Linked DNA regions of Homo sapiens: regions 1 and 2 are each linked to region 3. The links are contacts of gene promoters, found by promoter capture Hi-C in blood cells and fetal thymus (Javierre and others, 2016). All regions are on one chromosome and are shown on one strand. The core of a region is centred on a gene start or on the middle of the fragment in contact, and the rest is flanking DNA. Distances in the headings are between cores, read along the strand shown.

Region 1 (2,700 bases), core at 193-2,692, 420 kb before region 3:
AATGCAGGAATAAAAAGAGAGTTCTAGAACCTTTTATAGAAGGAATAATTTACTTTTCAGATCTGCAGTGGTACGAAGGTCCAACACCAGCCCCATGGGCTTCCTCCGGCCGGGATCATGCTCCCCAGTACCAGCAGACACAGCACAGACAGTTGGACGAAGGCTCTCCACTGGGTCTTCTAGGCCTTACTCACCTTCCCCTTTGGGTAAGTAGAGTTTAAAAACAGTTGTTTTCAACCTTTTTTTCACTGTAATAAATCTGACATGACACATTTTCTTTAGGAACTTCGGCTCATGATGGCAGTGATTCTCAGCTGATTGGAGGCCATACCCCGTCCCTCCATCTTTACCCCAATCCCAACTCCCTCTTTTCTTTTCTTTTTCCTTTTCTTTCTCTATTTGAGACAAGGTCTCACTCTGTCGCCCAGGCTGGAGTGCAGGGGGCATGATCTCGGCTCACTGCAGCCTCTGCTTCCCAGGTTCAAAGGATCTTTTCACCTCAGTCTCCCAAGTAGCTGGAACTACAGGCGCATGCCACCACACCCAGCTAATTTTTTTTACTTTTTTATTTTTACGGAGACAAAGTTTCACTATGTTACCCAGGCTGGTCTCGAGCACCTGGGCTCAAGCATCCACTCGCCTTGGCCTTCCAAAGTGCTGGGATTATAGGTGTGAGCCACCGCGCCCGGCCCCAACTTCTTTTTGAGAATCTCTGTATAAATTTGTTAGGATCTCTACTGGAAATACAATAATATAAATGTAATTTATGTATAAAAAGCATCTCCTTTGGGATTGGGCTCTAAATGCAAAGTCAGAAACCCTAGGTTGAAGTGCATAAAATGCCTTTTCTACTTATCACTCATACTTATAAGGATTACTGTATAGCAGCTCTGGGTCACAATTACCAGAAACCTTCCAGTTCTGGTAGGCATGTGGTGGCAGCTTTGTTACAGATCTTCCCACTTCTCCTGGTACCGTAATAAGGAGAATGCCAATACAAACAAAACACCAGAAACAACAAAAACCCTACCAAAAGGAAAAACAAACCATGTACCATATCTTCAGTGAAACCAAGGGACAGAAATAAAAGCTCAAACTGCAGAAATATGTGTGAGAGAGCCAAAGCCATTGAGACTACAGCAGCTGTATGAGAGGCAGCACTGAGGTGGTGGGAAGAACAGGTGGTGCACGCAGGGCCTGGGGGTGGCAAATCTCAAAACTGTAAAAAAAATACTTCCAGGAGAGGGCCCCACCTTCAGTCAGAACTGCTGAAGTAACACTAAGATGGAACAGGAAGAAGTCTCCAGAGACAAAGAGAAGGGCTTTCCTCAGGAGCCCTGTTTAAAACAAGACAAAACACACAATGACAGTGTTAAGAAAAAGAAAGAAGTTTAAATTGCCACATTACCTGTTGCAATGGTTTCAAAGCTGTTTTTAGATGAAAAATCTTTAAATAAAATTTTGGCCCTTTCTCACCCCTGTAGCAGCCCCTGAGGTACTTCAAGGTCTCCAAAGATAAGGTCCAAATCTCATCCTTGCACACAAGGATAAAGCCCTTCCCTAAGGATCTGATCTCTGCCCGCTGCTTAATCCCTTGGAATGAGCCCTCTTGATATAGACATGTTTCTCATCTGCTTAAACTGCCTGAAGCCTTCCCTAACTCTCTCTCTCTGTGTTAGTTTTAATTCTCAGAGAAATGGATGCATAGAACATATTAGATATACAAGAGAGTGACTTGGGGAAACTTCTGTGAAGAATGAAGGGGAGGAGCAGGAGGAAGCAGGGAGGGCCCTCAGACCAAGACATAGGTCCAACACCTGGAAAAGGAGGGCAGGAAGGAGGAAGAGCTGGCCAGGAAGAGTCTCAGACTGTGGTGTAGGTCTGAGAAGGTTTCAGCCAGACTGAAGAAGTAGCCCCAAGCACTGGATTGTCTTGTTAGAGGAATTCCCTGACCCGCTTCAACAAGCCTGAATTAGTGTCCCACCATATGCAGTCATTGGCTGGGAACAGCCCTGGGGGAAGCCTAGCCTTGGCACCAGAGGGACTGCAGCTGGGGCTCTCTGTTAGCTGTGCCCTGCAGCTCCACAAGCCCGGACACTTTGTACAAACTCTTTGTGCTTACCTGTCTTATGGACATACCTGTTAGGAGCATTTATTTGTTTATGTGGTTTTTCTTCCCCTAATGTTCTTATTTCAAGGCAGATTATATGATACTTTTTATCTTAGTGTGCAGCACCCAGCGGATTGGTTGTCCAGTAAATGTTAGTTGAACTAAACGTTTGTTACTTAAAATTTTCTAACCAGTAGTTTACTGTGCAATTTGTGCATGTGTTGCCTGTTGCCATCTTTTATTGGTTTTTGATCATTTTTCTTCCTTTCCCCATCTTTTTTTTTTTTTTTTTTGTAGTTGGTACCATTCCTGAGCAATTCAGTCAGTGCTGCTGTGGGCATCCTCAGGGCCATGACTCCAGGAGTAGAAACTCCTCAGGTAGGATAATGTATTTGGTTTATTAATAATTTGAATTGTATTATAAATGGATTTGAGTTGTGTTTTTCTAGTTTTATCAAAGAACAGAATTGATATGAAATATCTCCTCTGCCATCCTGATTTTTAGAATCTTGGTCTAATGTGGTTTAATATGTCATAAAGCTAATCTACTACCTCCTTTTGGATATGAGATTCCTTAATGAAAATAAGTC
Region 2 (2,700 bases), core at 175-2,674, 350 kb before region 3:
TGGTGCACAGAAGGGGGCCTACTTCTGCCCAGGAGCCACAGCCATAGCATGCCATTGTTGAGTCCATTGATTGCTCCTGGTGTTTAGATTCTCAGATTAAAAAAAAAATGTATGTAATCCCAGCACTTTGGGAGGCTGAGGCGGGCAGATCATTTGAGGTCAGGAGTTTGAGACCAGCCTAACCAACATGGTGAAACCCCTTCTCTACTAAAATACAAAAATTAGCTGGGTGTGGTGGCAGGTGCCTGTAATCCAGCTACTCTGGAGGCTGAGGCAGGAGAATCGCTTGAACCTAGGAGGTAGATGTTGCAGTGAGCCAAGGTAGCATCTCTACACTCCAGCCTGGGTGACAGAGTGAGACTCTGTCTCAAAACAAACAAACAAAAAAACAAAGCAAAACAAAAGAAAATGTAGAGTCTCTCCCAAACAGGAAACTAAAAGGCAAAGTCTCAAGCCATAAAAGGCTTCCGTCTCTGTTGCATTGCTGATGCCCTCTGTCTCCTGATGTTCTAGAGCAGAAGGGAAGATTGCGCCCACCTATGGGTTCCTCCAGCAGGCAGTCGTGGCGGGGACTGCGCTCGAGGAGCTCACCTTGATGGGAGCGTCTTCGGCAGGACCTGCAGGGTTATGCGGCAGGAACAAGTTAACCTCAGAATGGCGGCGGCTACAGAGGAGGTTGGGGGAGCTCTGCTCCACAAGGTCAACCAGAGAGGAGCTGACAGAGCCTTCACCATCTCAGTGCAGGGCTAGGGGTTCACCAAAGCAGGGAAGGGAGAACTGGAGAGGCCACCCCAGATCACCTCCACTCATAGCCCACTGGCCAGGACCACAGCCCAGAGCTGAAAGGGTTCTGGGAACTGTGGAGGAGCAGTCGTTATTTGTTGAGCAGCAAATGTCCCTGCTGCATGGACAGAGAAAGACAATAAACACAGGAATAAAGTGACATGAGAACTACCCTACAAAGCCAGGCCACGCCATGCAGGTCATGAGGGGTGTGCTGGTGTTTAGAGACCATTGGTTGAGGACTTGCCTGAGGGAAAGGTAGGGCACGGGCCCCTGAGCTCCAACCCTGACCTGCAATGACTCTTGTCCCCTCTCCCCCAACTGCTGCCATCCAGGCAGTTCCCACACCATCTGCCTTGAATGTGGGGCCCCCGGCTCCAGAGCCCTCACTGCTCTGCCGGGACTCCCCTCTACTCCTTGGCCACCTCTCTGCTCATCCCACTTTGGGGTACTCAAGGCTGAGCGGGTGACATTTCCCGGATCCCAATCTGTCAGGATGATGTTGAAATAGCAGCAAACTAAGATTCAAAAAGTTTAAAAAAGGAACTTCACCAGCTCACACTCCAGAAGGCTGCAGGGAGGACTGGTGCCAGGCTTGGACTCAGCTCCGCCTCTGCTGTGGGCCAGCCCTGCCCAGGGGACAGCAGGGTGGCTCCTTCTCTGAGTCCCCTTCTTTCCCAAAATTTCTCTGGAGTCACCTTGAGTGGCTGGACTGACTGCCTGGACTGAGCAAGCGTGGCAAACACTGCTGTTGCCTGTGCAAATCTGTTCCTCCTCCCTCATTGTTAACAGAATTCAATTTTGAAAATTTCTTTAAAAATGATGATGCTTAGGATCCTGAGATTTTCATCCTATGTTCTAGGCTAGAGCCAGGGCATCACTATATCTGGGTTATATGTTATTTGTTTGTTTTTTGTTTTTTGTTTTAGACAGAGTCTCACTCTGTCACCCAGGCTGGAGTGCAGTGGCACAATCTTGGCTCACTGCAAACTTCACCTCCCGGGTTCAAGTGATTCTCCTGCCTCAGCCTCCCGAGTAGCTGGAATTACAGGTGTGTACCACCACGCCCAGCTAATTTTTGTATTTTTAGTAGAGATGGGGTTTCACCATGTTGGTCAGGCTGGTCTCGAACTCTTGGCCTCAAGTGATCCACTCACCTTGGCCTCCCAAAGTGCTGGGATTACAGGCGTGCACCACCACGCCCAGCTAATTTTTAGTAGAGTATTTTTAGTAGAGATGGTGTTTCACCATGTTGGCCAGGCTGGTCTCAAACTCCCGACATCAAGTGATCTGCCCGCCTCAGCCTCTCAGAGTGCTGTGATTACAGGCACCTGCCCGGCCCCTCAGGCCTTTTTTGTAAGGGCACTAATCACCTCCCAAAGGCCCCAAACTCCTAATACCATCACACTGGGGACAAGGATTTCAACACCTGAATGCTTAGGGGGACACAAACATTCAGATCATAGCACCAATAAAAACAGATGCACAAGAAAGGGCGACCCCTCTCCCGCCAGAGAGTGGCATGTCTGGTTGTGAACTTGGAATGCACAGCCATCTTGTGGCCATGAGGACAGCCCTGAGGCGAGGCCGGCGGGCTGAGACCGGCTTAGTAGGGAGATGATGCCCCTGGGCTGCTCTGGGATGTGAATGAGCTGCTGGAGCTGCCTTCCCTTTAACAAATTTTCTTTTCCTCAAGCCATTTTGCCATTTTGAAGCATTTCCCATTACTTACATCTGAGAGCCTCTTATCTCTCCTCCTCTTACCGCTTGGTGTACTCCTTGTTCCAGTGTCTCCTGAACAGGGCGGGCTTGTTCTCCTGAGACTTCTGCTTAGACCTCCCAGCACCTCCTCCCTCCAAGTCTCTTCCTCCCCAGGACTGCAGGGCGTCAGCAGGGCCTCCAGACTGTAGACACCCG
Region 3 (2,809 bases), core at 269-2,768:
TTCGGCAACATGGTTGCAGCCTTCAGAAAAGTCCCAAGTCTGGCTCCCTCTCCCATCCCGCTTCTTACACAGATTTGAATTCGCCATAGGGCACGGTGGGCCTCAGGATGTCCTTGATGGCGATGATGTTGTCGTGTTTAAAGTGCTTGAGGATCTTCAGCTCCCTGAGGGTCCGCTTGGCATTGGTCACCACATCGAAAGCATTAGGGATCTTCTTGATGGCCACCTGCTGGCCTGAGGAGCAGGGAAAAGGGACATACCAGAGGATACCTTGGAGAAACTGCAGAGTCGACTCAGCCCCTATCAACACCTCCCTTCTAGGATGCAAATGACAACAGCTACCAAGTATTGGGTACCTACTATGTGCCAAGCCCTGTGCTAAGCATGTTACCTACATTATTAAATGTTACCTTCACAACTCCCCTGCGGGGCAGGTCCCAATAGGTCAACGTTAAAGAGAAGGAAATATGGCTTAGTAACTTGTTGGAGGTTGCACGGATGCCCAGTGGTGTAGCTCAGCCTCTTATGCCTACACCCTCTCCATCTCAGACCTCACCCATCCCACCACCAGTTCCTTATGCCAGTGTCTGGCTCCAGAACACATTTCTCTCTTAGACACGAAGGACTGGCTCTCCATTCTGGTCTAACTGGGACTATCATTTTCCTAAGGAGGAAGTAGGCAGGCAGGATGGCAAAACCACCAGGCCGGAGTTTCAGAGAACCGAGCCTCCCCGGAGCCTGGCAGGCAGAAGGCCCTGGTCAGTGTGTGTTGACTGGAGCCAGAACTCGCACCCCGCTTTCCTTCCCGGCTGTCTGGGACAGGCCGGTTTCCCACTCCCTGCGACGCTGCCACATCTGGGAGGCGACGGCTCAGGAAGCTCACCGGTGAGGCGGCGGCGGGCGGAGGACACCACTCCATAGGCCCCGTTGCCTATGGTCTCGATGATCTCGTACTCGTCGCCCACGTCAAAGGTCACATCGAAGGAGCGGGCTTTAAGCAGGGCCAGGTTCTTGGCCGCTACAGAGGCAGCGGTGTGGGCGGGTTCGGCCTTCACGGGCCCGGGGGGCTCCGCAGAGCCGTCCTCGCCGTCTTCCTCCTTCAGAGGCTCGGCCATGGTGTCTGTGTGGAGACTCGGGTGAGGAGAGGACCACCTACCGTGGGCCTCAGTGTCCCCTCTGCGGGCTGGGGAGCAGGACCAGGGAACTTCCCAGTTTCCTAAACCGACAAGGGCAGAAGCGCGCGGCTGGTTCGTGGCAGACTAGCTACCCCAGGGGTCCGGGCCCAGAGCCGGGGGCCCGCCAGGGTCGGGGGAGGGGTAGGCGAGGCGCGGGCCAGGAAGAAAGGGAGGGGCGGGGCACCTGGGTTTCCTCAGGGCCGCACTCACCCCCGCGCCTCCTCAAGGCTTTCAGAGGTCCCGAGGCTCGCCGGCCTCCCGTCCCCAGCGCGGGGGTCTCCGAGGGTGGCTCACTTACTTGTTCAAAGGCCGCAGCCACCACCTCAGCGTCTTGAGCTGCCCTGTCCGTCCCCCTCCGCCCCGCCTCCCAAGGCCACGCTCCCTCCAGCTCCTGGCCAATCGCTGAGCTACTGCTGCGGAGGGTCCTGCCCCTTCTACCTACTGCGTCCAATCCTAGCCCACCGGCCGAGAAAGCCACGCCTGGCGCGCGCCGCTGTCCAGCTCGCCGGCGGGAGCCGCCCAAAGGGTGCCCGGCACTTCGCAGGGGTGTGCTCCCCGCCCTGCACCGCCTTCAAACGCATGCGCACTGGCAGTCGGGCGCCAAGTGAATGGAAGGCAACGCCCCTGCACGTAGCGCGCGCGTCCCCATGAAGCTCTCAACCTCATCCGGCCAATCACAGCTAGTCCCGTGAGCTCGGGGAACTGCCCGGCCTGAGATGCCCAGGTCTGGGACTGTTACCTTGGCTACTGGCTCCCGAAGTCCCCTTCCGCCCAGGGAATTGTGTCCGCCATTTGCTTGGTCCCAGGAGCTCTGGGAATGTGTCATCCCCGGTAGAGGGTGCCCGTCACGGCCAACCACAGAGATCCCGGTCCTCCGGGATTCTAGAGCGTCCGGCCGAACCCTCCACTGACTTCCGGTGGCTGAGCCTCTCCGCAGCTTCCGGCCAAGTTGGACTGCAGCTCGCGGTTTCCTGGCTTCTAGGTATCTTCCCTCCGCTCGTTTGTCTGTCCCGCGATTCCCGTGCTTTGGGCTGCAGCGGAGTTAACCGAGGCGGCCGCCCAACCTCTGCTCCTCTGCGGAGCCCGCGGGTGGGCGGAGCCCTCGCTGGAACCGAGCTGTCCCGACCCACCCCAAAATCCGATAGTTTATTCGTTCATTCATGTAGCAAATGTTTATGGAGCACCGCCCCTCTAAGGCTCAGTGCCGGGAGGCGAAGGTGGACATGGTGGATACTGTGAGCTGGAAGGAAAGGTTTTCTAAAGGGAGCTCGAGGTAGGGCCGAAAAGAAGTGAAGAATTTTGGTTTCACTCCTAGGCGGCTTCTAGAAAAAAGCAATATGTATGCATATTCGTACCTACCTCCCCTTTGGTGTACAAAAATGTAGCATATTATGCTCTTTTCCTGAAGATCATTCCATATCAATAACTGGAGGGGTCCCTCACTTTTAAACAACTTTTAATAACATACCATAAAACTCATCCTTTTATAGTGTACAATTCAGTGTTTTTTGGTATATTCACAGTTGAGCAGCCATCATCACTACCTAATTTTAGGTAGAGTGGTTTATGGAACATTTTCATCGCCCCTAAAAGAAACCTATGTGAACCAAGTATCTGAGACAAGTCTCAAGTCA

Evidence for each region. Contacts are between HindIII fragments. The CHiCAGO score rates a contact against its expected background, and 5 or more counts as called.
Region 1: a fragment that was not itself captured here is called in contact with the fragment with the promoter of MAPK7 in region 3 in 1 of 17 cell types (naive B cells); the score reaches 5.7 in naive B cells.
Region 2: a contact is called between a fragment that was not itself captured here and the fragment with the promoter of MAPK7 in region 3, in 2 of 17 cell types (M1 macrophages and M2 macrophages). The highest score is 5.7, in M1 macrophages.

The regions. Positions count from the first base shown.
Region 1 is chr17:19,799,283-19,801,982 of GRCh38, reverse strand. ULK2 (unc-51 like autophagy activating kinase 2) reads left to right here. Exons shown (of 27, transcript NM_014683.4): 16 at 61-206; 17 at 2,408-2,488. Among named protein-coding and RNA genes, the nearest start is that of ALDH3A1, 52 kb to the right of the region's middle. The HindIII fragment of the contact is 3,751 bases long and covers 1-2,700 here.
Region 2 is chr17:19,729,744-19,732,443 of GRCh38, reverse strand. No RefSeq gene overlaps it. Among named protein-coding and RNA genes, the nearest start is that of SLC47A2, 15 kb to the right of the region's middle. The HindIII fragment of the contact is 5,355 bases long and covers 1-2,700 here.
Region 3 is chr17:19,377,207-19,380,015 of GRCh38, reverse strand. It overlaps MAPK7 (mitogen-activated protein kinase 7), which reads right to left and starts at 1,518. Exons shown (of 7, transcript NM_002749.4): 1 at 1,386-1,518; 2 at 884-1,120; 3 at 69-234. The coding sequence starts at 1,115. It also overlaps a transcript of B9D1 not described here. RefSeq lists silencers at 1,293-1,552, 1,623-1,682, 2,393-2,442 and an enhancer at 1,893-2,122. The HindIII fragment of the contact is 26,192 bases long and covers 1-2,809 here.